Linked DNA regions of Homo sapiens: all the other regions are linked to region 3. The links are contacts of gene promoters, found by promoter capture Hi-C in human tissues and cell types (Jung and others, 2019). All regions are on one chromosome and are shown on one strand. Each heading gives the region's core, a stretch centred on a gene start or on the middle of the fragment in contact. The rest is flanking DNA. Distances are from core to core; before and after follow the strand shown.

The links. Contacts are between HindIII fragments. The study calls those that stand out against the background at their distance.
Region 1: the fragment with the promoter of STAP2 here is called in contact with the fragment with the promoter of GIPC3 in region 3 in 1 of the 25 tissues and cell types used here (H1 embryonic stem cells).
Region 2: a contact is called between a fragment that was not itself captured here and the fragment with the promoter of GIPC3 in region 3, in 1 of the 25 tissues and cell types used here (dorsolateral prefrontal cortex).

The regions. Positions count from the first base shown.
Region 1 is chr19:4,335,702-4,340,260 of GRCh38, forward strand. STAP2 (signal transducing adaptor family member 2) reads right to left here and starts at 3,126. Exons shown (of 13, transcript NM_001013841.2): 1 at 2,951-3,126. The coding sequence starts at 3,052. The HindIII fragment of the contact is 19,957 bases long and covers 1-4,559 here.
Region 2 is chr19:4,413,484-4,417,913 of GRCh38, forward strand. The region is part of intron 3 of CHAF1A (chromatin assembly factor 1 subunit A); the gene reads left to right. Among named protein-coding and RNA genes, the nearest start is that of CHAF1A, 13 kb to the left of the region's middle. RefSeq lists an enhancer at 1-321. The HindIII fragment of the contact is 3,051 bases long and covers 1,193-4,243 here.
Region 3 is chr19:3,584,154-3,588,561 of GRCh38, forward strand. GIPC3 (GIPC PDZ domain containing family member 3) reads left to right here and starts at 1,325. Exons shown (of 6, transcript NM_133261.3): 1 at 1,325-1,669; 2 at 2,342-2,527; 3 at 2,661-2,841. The coding sequence starts at 1,445. The HindIII fragment of the contact is 10,668 bases long and covers 1-4,408 here.

The DNA of each region.
Region 1 (4,559 bases), core at 1,876-4,375, 750 kb after region 3:
GTGCTGTTGGGCAAGTTATTTGAGCTGTCTTTGTCTGTTTCCCCAGCTGTAAAATGGTGATAATAATGGTGCCAACTCTGGAGGATCTCATGAGAATTAGGTGACTTTCCACATGGGAAGCACCAGGGCCTGCGTTGAGTCAAGTCCTCAACACGTGAACTGTGACTACAGCCCTAACTCCCTATTTCAGAAGACAGAAAACTAAGGCTCAAAGATTAAGTCACTTGCATAAGGCCTGGGAGTAAGGAAAGTGTGGAGCCGGGATTAGAACCTGGGTCTTCTTAATTCGGGCCCATGATCTTTTTTGTTTTGTTTTGTTTTGTTTTTAAGAGACAGAGTCTTGCTCTGTCGCCCAGGCTGGAGTGCAGTGGTGCGATCTCGGCTCACTGCAACCTCCACCTCCCAGTTCGAGCCATTCTCCTGCCTCAGCTTCTCAAGTAGCTGGGATTACAAGTGCGCACCACCACATCCAGCTAATTTTTGTATTTTTTAGTAGAGGTGGGGTTTCACTATATGTTGGCCAGGGTGTTCTCGAACTCCTGACCTCAAGTGATCCGCCGGCCTCGCCCTCCCAAAGTGTTGGGATTACAGGCGTGAGCCACTGCACACTGCCTTTTTTTTTTTTTTTTTTTTTTGAGACAGAGTCTCACTCTGTCACCTAGGCTGAAATGCGGTGGCACCATCTCAGCTCACTGCAACCCCCCCGCCCCAGTTCAAGCAATTCTCCTGCCTCAGCCTCCCGAGTAGCTGGGATTACAGGTGCACACCACCACGCCCAGCTATTTTTATTTTTAGTAGAGATGGGGTTTCATCATGTGGCCAGGCTGGTCTTGAACTCCTGACCTCAAGTGATCCTCCCACCTCGGCCTCCCAAAGTGTTGGGTTACAGGCGTGAGCCACCACGCCCGGCCCCCATTATCTTTCTTTTCTTTTTTTTTTCTTTTTGTTTTTGAGAGCAGTCTCGCTCTTGTCCCCCAGGTTTGAGTGCAATGGCTTGATCTTGACTCACTGCAAACTTCGCCTCTCAGGCTCAAATGATTCTCCTGCCTCTGCCTCCCAAGTAGCTGGGATTAAGGCGCCTGGCACCATACCCAGCTAATTTTTGTATTTTTTAGTAGAGACGAGGTTTCACCATATTGGCCAGGTTGGTCTTGAACTCCTGACCTCAGGTGATCCGCCTGCCTCGGCCTCCCAAAGTGCTGGGATTACAGGCGTGAGCCACAAGCCCGGCCTCCCCCATTATCTTTCTTAACTGCAGTGATCTACTGGCTCTAAAGGGTTTGTTGGTTGGGGAGGATTTGGATGTATGGAGGTAGAAGGAAAGTCTACTCCACTACAGGTAAGGGAACCTCAGGGGCAGAGGCGGGGACATGGGCAGGGAGGAGCTGGGGGTGTTTGTTTTGATCTGTATTAGAAAATGAGGCAGTCATGGTGGCTCACACCTCTAATCCCAGCAGTTTGGGAGGCTGAGACAGGAGGATCACTTAAGGCCAGGAGTTTGAGACCAGCCTGGGCAACATAGCAAGACCCCATCTTTTTTTTTTTTTTGAGACGGAGTCTTGCTCTGTTGCCCAGGCTGGAGTGCAGTGGCACGATCTTGGCTCACTGCAACCTCTGCCTCCCAGGTTCAAGTGATTCTCCTGCCTCAGCCTCCAGAGTAGCTGGGATCACAGGCACGCACCACCACGCCCGGCTAATCTTTGTATTTTTAGTAGAGACGGGGTTTCACCATATTGGCCAGGCTGGTCTCAAACTCCTGACTTCAGGTGATCCACCTGCCTCAGCCTCCCTAAGTGCTGGGATTACAGGTGTGACCCACTGCGCCTGGCCAGCAAGACCCCATCTTCAAAAAAAAAAAAAAAAGGCTGGGTGCGGTGGCTCATGCCTGTAATCCCAGCATTTAGAGAGGCCGAGACAGGTGGATCACCTGAGGTCAAGAGTTCAAGACCAGCCGGGCCAACAAAATGAAACACTGTCTTTACTAAAAATACAAAAATTAGGTGTGGTGGTGCGTACCTGTAATCCCAGCTACTCGGGAGGCTGAGGCACGAGAATCGCTTAATCGTTTGAACCTGGGAGGTGGAGGTTGCAGTGAGCCGAGATGGTGCCACTGCACTGCAGCCTGGGTGACAGAGTGAGACTCAGTCTCAAAAATAAATAAATAAAATAAAAGCCAGAAGAGGCAGTGCATGCCTGTGGTCCCAGCTACTCAGGAGGCTGGGGCGGGAGGTTCACTTGAGCCCAGGAGTTTGAGGCTACAGTGAGCCATGATCGTGCCCCTGCACTCTAGCCTGGGTGACAGAGCAACTCTGTCTCTAACAAAAAGAAAGAAAGAAAATGAATATGCGGCATTGGGAAGGAGAGATAGGGCCTCACGGGGAACGGAGGGGCTGGGACTTTATTCTGAGGGAGACATAAGCACACACACACACACACATGCACGCACTGTCCATGGCAACTATCTGTCCTGTGGAATGTGGCCCCCGCTAGCTCTTACTGTCCTCACATGTCACCTGTCCTGGCCTTCGCCCCAGCAGCTGAGGTTCACGGAGTTTTTCCTGGGCTGGGAGCGGGAGGAAGCTCGGGAGTCAGAGGACTCCCCATTTCCTGGAGGAAGTCCCTGATCTTGTTTGTATTCAAGAGAGTGAACGAGAGACAAAAGCAAAGATTGAGACAAAGAGAGAGGGAGACTGAGACAGACATCGGGAGAGACAGACGGGGCCAGGGAGAGAGAAAGAGAAAAAGAAACCAAATTCAAAGACACACGGAGACAGAGATAGACGCACAGAGAGGCAGATGGCCAGAACCCACCCCAGTCCCCCAGCACGTGTCCTGCCCCATCCAGCACCCACCCCGCCCCCCCTTGGCGAGTGGGGAGACAGGGACTCAGAGAGGTGCCGCAGCTCCCCACGGTGGCCCAGCAGGGCCAGCCCCCGCCTCCCCACCTTACCCGGTCACAGGGCCCCTTCTTCTCTAGAAAGCTCTCATAGTAGTGTGAAGGCAGGACACCCTTAGGCTTGGGGACACGGGGTGGCCTCAGGGCAGAGGCCATGACGGAGCCAGGGTCTTCCGCCTGGCCTCTCCTTCCAGTGGGTGCCCCAGCTGGGCCGGGAAGCTGAGAAACAGGTTTCAGGGGAGTTTCCTGTGTCAGCCCGTCAACTCCCTCCCCTGCCAGGGCTGGGCAGAGGCTGATCCCAGCAGGTCCAGTGATCCTAGGGAAATCCCCGCCTCTCCGGTGTGGAACTGAGAACAGAGAGAATGTATAAGTCTACTTGAATGGGAGAATAATCTTCGCTATATCTGCAAAGACAGAGACATGGTCTGTCTCTTTATTTATTTATTTATCTATTTTTCCTATTTTGAGACAGAGTTTCACTCTGTTGCCCAGGCTGGAGTAAAGTGGTATGATCTTGGCTCACTGCGACCTCTGCCTCCCGGGTTCAAGAGACTGCGCTGCCTCCCGGGTTCAGAGACTGAGTCCAAGCTCAGTCTCCTGACTAGCGTGGATTGCAGGTGACCGCCACCACGCCTGGCTAATTTTTGTATTTGTAGTAGAGACGAGGTTTCCCCATGTTGGCCCAGGCTGGTCTCGAACTCCTGACCCCAAGTTTTCTGCCCGCCTCAGCCTCCCAAAGTGCTGAGATTACAGGCATGAGCCACCACACCTGGCCCTTTCTCTTACTTTGATGGACCCTAATGATTACATTGGGCCCACCTGGATAATCCACGCTACTCTCCCTATTTTAAAGTCAGCTGACTAGCAACTTTAATTTCATCTGCAATTTTTCTTTTTTAGACGGTGTCTCATTCTGTTGTCGATGCTGGAGTGCAGTGGCACGATCATAGTTCACTGCAGCCCTGACCTCCCAATCTCAAGCGGTCCTCCTGCCTCAGCCACCCGAAGAGCTGGGACTATAGGTGGGCACCACCACACCCAGCTAATTTATTTTCCTTTTTTAAGGATGAGTTCTCACTATGTTGCCTAGGCTGGAGTACAGTGGGGCGATCATGACTCACTGTAGCCTCGACCTTACAGGCTCAAGTGATCCTCCAGCCTCAGCCTCCAGAGTAGGTGGTACTACAGTTGCATGCCACCACACCTGGCTAATTTTTTTTTTTCTTTTTTTTGAGACAGACTCTCGCTCTGTAGCCCAGGCTGGAGTGCAGTGGCGTGATCTCGGCTCACTGCAAGCTCCGCCTCCCAGGTTCATGCCATTCGCCTGGCTCAGCCTCCCAAGTAGCTGGGATTACAGGTGCCTGCCACCACGCCCAGCTAATTTTTACACTTACTAGAGACAGGTTCTTGCTATGTTGCCCAGGCTGGTCTTTTTTTTTTTTTTTTTTTGAGACAGAGTCTTACTCTGTCACCCAGGCTGGAGTGCAGTGGAGCGATCTCGGCTTACTGCAACCTCTGCCTCCCAGGTTCAAGCAATTCTCCTGCCTCAGCCTCCCGAGTAGCTGGGATTATAGGCACGTGCCACCATGCCCAGCTAATTTGTTTGTATTTTTATTTTAGTAGAGATGGAGTTTCACTGTGTTAGCCAGGATGGTCTTAATCT
Region 2 (4,430 bases), core at 1,468-3,967, 830 kb after region 3:
CAGCTCTTTCCAGATTGCAGGGGCGAGCTGGTGGGAAGCTTGCAGATTGTTTCGCACTGCCGTGTAATCTGTGTGCTTGTCACTGGGGTCTGTTCTTCCTTGAGTTGGTACAGTGAAATATGCATTGAGAGTCCCAGGGCAGTCATTGCCACTGTACTTTGTGGGCTGGCTTGCCTTCTTTATTATTTCTTCTTTAAAATAAAAGAAAATGGGAGTTTGTTCCGATACAGGTCCTGCTGTCCCTTTGCAGGGAGCTTCATGGCGTGTTTTTGTTTGTTTTGGTTTTTGTTGTTGTTTTAGTACTGCAGGATCTGGAGAATCTCACTTTGGAGAAACAATGATTTAAAAAGATCCCCCTTTAGATACTCCCAGGGTCCTTTGAATAGCTGAAGTGTTCCTTTTTAGTATTAGAGTTTTCTACCATGTGGGAAAGAACCATTTCTGAAGTTTGCAATCAGACTTGTGATTTAGCCTCTTCTGTTAGTGATCGAGATGATTATTTGACAAATGATCATGTTGGTGCAGTTGTGTTACTGGAATCTTTGGCTTGCTTCTGTGCCCAGATTGCTGGAACTTCTTTCCATATACTTGAAATTACATTTGTAATAAATTCTCCATGTTTAAAAGAAATACTGGTCTAGGTGCAGTGGCTCAAGCCTGTAACCCCAGCACTTTGGGAAGCCGAGGTGGGAGGATTGCTTGAGCTTAGGAGTTCGAAACCAGCTTGACCAACATGGTGAAACTCCGTCTGTACAAAAAATACAAAAAATAGCGGGGCATGGGGGTGCACACCTGTAGTCCCAGCTCCTTGGGAGGCTGAGGTGGAAGGATCACTTGAGCCAAGGAGGCAGAGGTTGCGGTGAGTCATGATTGCACCACTGTGCTCCAGCCTGGGCAACAGCCAGACCGTCTCAAAAAAAAAAAAAAACAAAAAGGAAAAAGAATGGAAACCTTGAAGCCCTCTGTTCTCCCAGGAGGTTGCCATTATTATCATCATCATCACCTTGTGTTTTTCTGTGTCCTGTATATCCAGAGAGATCTCTAGGAAACACCCAGTATCATTTTGTTTCCTTGTGTATGACATATACTGTAAATATCTGTCTTTGTTACTCAAGGGTGTCTTAGATGTTTTTTATATTGGGATGGAAAGATGGAGCTCTTTTTAACAGCTGCGTGATATCCCATGGTGTGGACATGCTGTAGGTTACAGAGCTGTTTTCTCAGTTCTGCTGTTTCTGTGCTTGGCTTTCACAAAATGATTGTTCCCTTGAGCTTCCTTCTACAAGTGGCCTTGGGCTGTTAAGGAGAATGAGGTCTTGGTAGCTCAAGGCAATGCGTGCGTTCTTATTTTCCCAGCTTGCACTCTCTCATGCTTGGGCCAATTGGAGGTTTTCTCTTTTCCCCCCTGCCTCCGCTCCCCTGCTGTCAGGTTTTAGCGGCTTATCTGGTCTGGGCTTAGAAATTAGATACCCTTTAGTATAAAATCAGAGTCCATAGGCTCTGAGAGGATTATCTGAGAAAGGGTGCAGGAATTTTCATGCCCACACATAGTGAGCTCTGTCGCGACTCCTTGGGATTGTCGGTTTTTGTGTTTTGGCTTCCTTCTGGGATCCTGGATCACGTTTTTGGCAGTTGAGGGTGCTGTCTGACCGGGCTCCAGCTGGGTAGAATGTGGGAGTGTTGCATAGAATTTTGAGAGTGAGATCTATAAACACTTGGGTCAAATTTCAAGAAGATAAAGTTCTGTCAGACTTCAAGGTCCATCTGAGGGTTTGGCAAAGCAAAAAAGATACCAGTTTTAAATTAAGCAGTAATTGCTCTGTTTTGGTTGTTGGATATTACTGAGCGGGCTCTTGCCAGTCACATCAAGTCTGTTATCTCTGGACTCACAGCAGAGGGGGGGCATTGTAAGAGGCAGGAGATTCTGCAGCTGAGCTTCAGGCATGGGCAAGACTAAGGAACTGAATTCCCCGCCACCCCAAGACCACATTCCGTATTATAATCTCTGAACACAAAGGGCAGCCCCGGAGAGCTGCGGCTCCCATATTCTGCAGTTAAATCCCTCAGCGTGGGGGAGAGGCACACAGCCTTGGCAGGCAGAGTAGATGCTGGAGAGACAGATGCTTTTTCTGCAGCATTTGGTGAGGCTGCCTCGGGCTGGCATTTCTGTTGCCACATTCTCAGCAAAGACTGAACACCCTGGCCTGATCTCGGTGGTGAAAGAGCTCCTGCCAACACGGGCAGCCTTCTCACAACGGCTCGGCCTTTCCCTAAAGAAAGGTTTAGTCCAGAAAGGACTCAGTGGGACCCAGGTGGAAAGGCTGTCTTGAGCTCATTCATCTGAAGCTTTTATTCTGTGAGAGGTCCTAGTCAGGGGTTCAGCTTTCCCAGATAAAGAAATCACTGTTGGCCGGGCGCGGTGGCTCACGCCTTTAATCCCAGCACTTTGGGAGGCCGAGGCGGGCGGATCACGAGGTCAGGAGATCGAGACCATCCTGGCTAACATGGTGAAACCCCATCTCTACTAAAAATACAAAAAAATTACCCAGGCATGGTGGTGGGCACCTATAGTCCCAGCTACTGGGCAGACTGAGGCAGGAGAATCGCTTGAACCCGGGAGGCGGAGCTTGCAGTGATCCGAGATGGCGCCACTGCACTCCAGCCTGGGCGACAGAGCGAGACTCCGTCTCAAAAAAAAAAAGAAATCACTTACATAATTTTGTTGACCCCTCAGACCATTGCCAGGAAAATGGGCCTTTGGTTTTTCAGTCAACTTCAGTCTTACACTGCAAGTCTGCAATGAACCCGGAGAACTATTTCTTCCCACTCTTAAGCGTCTCTTCCCATTGCTCTTCACTTCTACTAGTTTGGTTTTCAGGATTCCCTGCCCCGGTGGGAGATAGCTTAGGCCAAAGTCCAGACTCCCTGTTCGTCTTCCTTCCTGGGACCATTTAGGTGGATGGTGAGTCACACCATGGATCCTATTGGTAATTCCTAGTAGCTCATGCTCAGTTTGAAGGTAGGTGATAGAAAATATTGTGCCCTAGAAGGTAGAAGTCCTAGAAAACCCCAGCAAGTTTCCCTTTTGTCTTAAGCTTTCACTCCACATTCTAAAAAGCAGAGTTGGCTGGGCGCGGTGGCTCACGCCTGAATTCCTAGCACTTTGGGAGGCGAGGCGGGTGGATCACCTGAGGTCAGGAGTTCGAGACCAGCCTGGCCAACATGATGAAACCCCTATCTCCACTAAAAATACAAAAATTAGCCAGGTGTGGTGGCACACGCCTATAATCCCAGCTACTCAAGAAGCTGAGGCAGGAGAATCGCTTGAACTTGGGAGGTAGAGGTTGCAGTGAGCCGAGATCGTGGCACTCGCTGCACTCCAGCCTCTGTGACAGGAGTAAGACTCCATCTCAAAAATAACATTAAAATAAAAAGCAGAGTTGAGCTAGACAGAATGTAAATTAGTGGTGCACAGGAAACCAGCCTGGAGACATGTTTTATTTGATTAATTTAGTATCTTTTTATTTTTTTTTTAGACAGTCTCACTCTGTCACCCAGGTTGGACAGCTCAGTGCAGCCTCAACCTCCCGGGCTCCTCCCACCCCAGACTCCTGGGTAGCTAGGACTACAGATGTGCACCACAACACCCGACTAACTAAAAGCTTTTTTTAGAGACAGGGTCTTGCTTTATTGCCCAGGCTGGTCTTGAACTCCTGGGCTCAAGTGATCCTCCCGCCTTGACCTCCCAAAGTGCTGGGATTACAGGCATGAGCCACTGTGCCCGTCTGTGTCCATTTTTAAACACCTAAAAAAATTCATATGAAATTCCTAATATCAGCTTCTCTTGGAGAAATTGGAAGGACCAGCAAATAGGGATCTATATTCCTGTAAGAACTCCATCTCCTTTGGACAGGCAGGTCCTCTCTCCTTTGCTACAAATCCATCCTCTCCCTGTCGCCCAGGCCAGCTGTCGCTTTTTTTTTTTTTTTTTTTTTAAGACAGAGTCTCACCCTGTTGCCCAGGCAGGAGTATGGTGGCGCAATCTCGGCTCACTGCAACCTCCTTCTCCTGGGTTCAAGCGATTCTTCTGCCTCAGCCTCCTGAGTAGGTGGGATTACAGGCACCTGCCACCACGCTCGGCTAATTTTTGTATTTTTAGTAGAGATGGGGTTTTGCCACGTTGGCCAGGCTGGTCTCGAACTCCTGACCTCAGGTGATCTGTCTGCCTCGGCCTCCCAAAGTGCTGGAATTACAGGCGTTAGCCACCGCGCCCAGCCTTGTCTGTTGCCTTTATTTCTGAGCTTGCCTTGTTTTTCTTGTGCTTGGTGTCCTTCACTCATTTCTTTATCTGCCTCCGTAGTCTCTCTTGTTATCTAATCCCAGATACACACATGTATGCACACTTACTGGAGTTTGTGACCCTATTATGA
Region 3 (4,408 bases), core at 75-2,574:
ACAGTGGCTCACATCTGTAATCCTAGCACTTTGGGAGGCCAAGGCTGAAGGATGGCCTGAACCTCCTGGTCTTGAGTTTGAGACCAGCCTGGGCAACACAGTGAGATCCCAACTGTACAAAAAATTAATCATGTTTCTAAATTAAATTTTAAAAAACTGAATGCGGCCGGGTGCGGTGGTTCACGCCTGTAATCCCAGCACTTTGGGAGGCCAAGGCAGGTGGATCACCTGAGGTCAGGGGTTCGAGACAAGCCTGACCAACATGGTGAAACCCTGTCTCTACTAAAAAATACAAAAATTAGCCAGGCATGGTGGTGTGCGCCTATAATCCCAGCTACTAGGGGGGCTGAGGCAGGAGAATCGCTTGAACCCAGGAGGTGGAGGTTGCAGTGAGCCGAGATCACGCCATTGCACTCCAGCCTGGGCGACAGAGCTAGACTCCGTCTCCAAAATCAAACAAACAAACCAAAGGCTGGGCGTGGTGGCTCATGCCTGTAATCCCAGCTTTTTTGGAGGCTAAGGTGGGTGGATTCCTGAGGTCAGGAGTTCAAGACCATCCTGGCCAACATGGTGAAACCTCATCTCTATTAAAAATACAAAAAAATTAGCCGGGCATGGTGGTATATGCCTGTAATCCCAGCTACTGGGGAGGCCGAGGCATGAGAATTGCTTGAACCTGGTGGGCAGAGGTTGCAGTGAGCTGAGATCGTGCCACTGAACTCCAAACTGGGTGACAGAGCGAGACTCCAGCTCAAAATAAATAAATAAATAAAAATAATAAAATAAAATAAAACAATGACCTCGCCTAGCAGAGGGTGAGTGCTCCAGCACCCTCAGCTGTCCCTGTCCTTTTTTTTTTTTTTTTTTTTTTTTTTGCGACGGAGTCTCGCTTTGTTGCCCAGGCTGGAGTGTAATGGCGCCATCTCAGCTCACTGCCACCTCCGCCTCCCGGGTTCAAGAGATCTCAGCCTCCCGAGTAGCTGGGATTACAGGCGCCCGCCACCACGTCCGGCTGATTTTTGTATTTTTGGTAGAGACGGGGTTTCACCATGTTGGCCAGGCTAGTCTTGAACTCCTGACCTCAGGTCATCTGCCCGCTTCGGCCTCCCAAAGTGCTGGAATTACAGACGTGAGCCACCGCTCCAGGCCTGTCCCTGTCCTTATTTGTGGTCCCTGTTCTTCCAGGGTCCTGAGCTCAGGCCCCCCCGGACTGCGGGTATCCCCGGGGAGGGCACAGCTGGCCCTGGCAGGGCCCGGACACCTGGGGCCCGACCCACCCCTGCGCACCCCGCGGTGTCGCCTTCCCGGGAGGCTCGGGTTCCCAGATCCCCTTACCCGGGCGTCTCGGCTGTCGCGCCCTGGGCCGGGGGAGGGGAGGCTGCAGGAAGCGGCGGATCCGGCGGCGGCGGCGAGGGCCCGGGTGGGTGGCCGAACTTCTCCCGCCATGGAGGGAGCAGCGGCCCGGGAGGCCCGGGGGACCGAGACCCCGCGCGCGTCTGCGCCCCCGCCCGCGCCCTCGGAGCCCCCGGCCGCGCCCCGCGCCCGCCCGCGCCTCGTCTTCCGCACGCAGCTGGCGCACGGGAGCCCCACGGGCAAGATCGAGGGCTTCACCAACGTCCGCGAGCTGTACGCCAAGATCGCCGAAGCCTTCGGGATCGCGCCCACCGAGGTAAGGAGCCCGGACACCGGCGCCCAAGACCACCCGCCTGATGGGGTGAGGGGTAGGGAGCTTGGACCCTGGACGGGAGACCCCAGATCCCCGGATCCCAGACGTCGGGGTGGCCGCCTAATCGCCGGATCTCAGAGACCCAGCCCTCAGATCCCGGGGTGCCACACTCCCAGGGGCCCCCTTTGCACGCTCTGCGCAAAAGATGGGCAGGTCTTAGGACTAGCGGACCCCTAGATATTCCAGAAAATCCTCTGCGCAGACCTAGCTTGGAGCGGACCCCAGCCCTCGGGGAAGCGCCTCTGTGCTTCCTGGGCGTAGCTGGGGTCTGGGGTTCCAGATGGCCCCCTTAGGGATGGGAAGTTTGAGGCCGCCGTGGGGTTGGGGGGTTCCTGGGCGTTTTTCCAATCCGGGTTCGTTTGGTTTGCAGCCCCCAGGGGGCGCCAGCAGATTAAACCTGGAGGTCTGGGGGCTGGAGGTCCCGGGGTATGGAGAGGGGTCTCCACCTGCTGGAAGTCTCCTTCTCCCTCCTCTCTCTGTTCTGGGGGTCCCACGCCCTGCCCTTTCCCATGGGCTGGGATCCTGGTCGCTGGGGGCAGGGGCCTGCGCAGACAGGGTGGCTGCGTGGGGGGATGCATGCCCTGGCTAACTCTAGGCTCCTTCTCCCCCGGGAAGATTTTATTCTGCACCCTCAACAGCCACAAAGTGGACATGCAGAAGCTCCTGGGGGGTCAGATAGGCCTGGAGGACTTCATCTTTGCCCACGTGCGAGGCGAGACCAAGGAGGTGGAGGTCACTAAGACAGAGGATGCTCTGGGGCTGACCATCACGGACAACGGGGCTGGCTACGCCTTCATCAAGGTGCCCGGGAGGGGGTGGGCGGGTGGCTTCCTGGGGTCCAGCAACTGCCCCCCCCACTCTGGGTCGACGTGGGTTCTGCGGATTGGAGGCGGGTGGCTGGGGTTGCCCTGCCAGCGACGCTGGATCCCTGCAGAGAATCAAGGAAGGCAGTATCATCAACCGGATCGAGGCAGTGTGCGTGGGTGACAGCATCGAAGCCATCAACGACCACTCCATTGTGGGCTGCCGCCACTACGAGGTGGCCAAGATGCTCCGGGAGCTGCCCAAGTCCCAGCCCTTCACCCTGCGCCTGGTGCAGCCCAAGAGGGCCTTCGGTGAGGCGGGTGGGCTGGCGGGAGCTCTTCCCGAAGTGCGTTCTACGGATGCCTGGGGTGGAGGAGGGTCGGGGATGGGACGGGCTGGAAGGTTCTAGGTGCACCCGCTGCGTGCCAAGGAGCTCCTGGCAGGGTATCAGAAACTCGTAGGTAGTTTCTATTAATAGATTGTTATGGAGTCAGCCTGTGGGGGAGGGGTGGGGGAGAGACTGGGTAAAGTGGAGTTGGAGGAGGACGCGTCCAGAACCACTTTGGAGCCAGGCTGGGAGACTTGTTTTTGTTTGTTTGTTTGTTTGTTTGTTTTTGAGACGGAGTCTCACTCTGTTGCCTGGGCTGGAGTGCAATGGCGCGATCTCAGCTCACTGCAATCTCCACCTCCCGGGTTCAAGCGATTCTCCTGCCTCAGCCTCCCGAGTAGCTGGGACTACAGGCACCCACCATTGCGCCTGGCTAATTTTTGTATTTTTAGTAGAGACGGGGTTTCACCATCTTGACCAGTCTGGTCTCGAACTTCTGACCTCAAGTGCTCCACCCGCCTCAGTCTCCCAAAATGCTAGGATTATAGGCGTGAGCCACCGCGCGCAGCCTGGGAACTTTTAAAGCAGTGCTTTGAGGTCATGGTGGATTGTAGAGAATGAGAATATGAGAAAAAAGTTTTCTTTCTTTTCTTTTTTTTTTCCTTTCTTTTTTCTTTTCTTTTCTTTTTTTTTTTTTGAGACGGAGTCTAGCTCTGTCGCCCAGACTGCAGTGCAGTGGCTAGATTTCAGCTCACTGCAAGCTCCGCCTCCCGGGTTCACACCATTCTCCTGCCTCAGCCTCCCGAGTAGCTGGGACTACAGGCGCCCGCCACCACACCCGGCTAATTTTTTGTATTTTAGTAGAGATGAGGTTTTACCGTGTTAGCCAGGACGGTCTCGATCTCCTGACCTCGTGATCCGCCCACCTCGGCCTCCCAAAGTGCTGCGATTACAGGTGTGAGCCACCGCGCCTGGCCGTGCCAGCTAATTTTTAATTTTTTTCTTTTTTTGAGACGGAGTTTTGCTCTTGTTGCCCAGGCTGGAGTGCAATGGTGTGATCTCGGCTCACCACAACCTCTGCCTCCCAGGTTCAAGTGATTCTCCTGCCTCAGCCTCCCAACTAGCTGGGATTACAGGCATGTGCCACCATGCCTGGCTAATTTTGTATTTTTAGTAGAGATGGGGTTTCTCCATGTTGGCAGGCTGGTCTCGAACTCCCGACCTCAGGTGATCTGCCCGCCTCGGCCTCCGAAAGTGCTGGAATTACAGGCATGAGCCACTGCACCCTGCCCATTTTTTTTCATAACTAGACTTTCTCAATGAAGAAAACAGTGTATTGATTTACACACTAGCACATTCTCCTCATGTAGCCATGGGTTGGCCCTTTGGATAGCGTTGTTCTATAGAACAGAGACAGAGATTCTAGAAGTGCCCCAGCACACATGGAGAGACGTCCCAGGGAGAGTGAGCTGTATGGGGTTCTAGAATCTGCCCTGCCGTGGCTGTGAACTCCAAAAGCCATGCCTAAAAATAGAGTTTAGGCCGGGCGT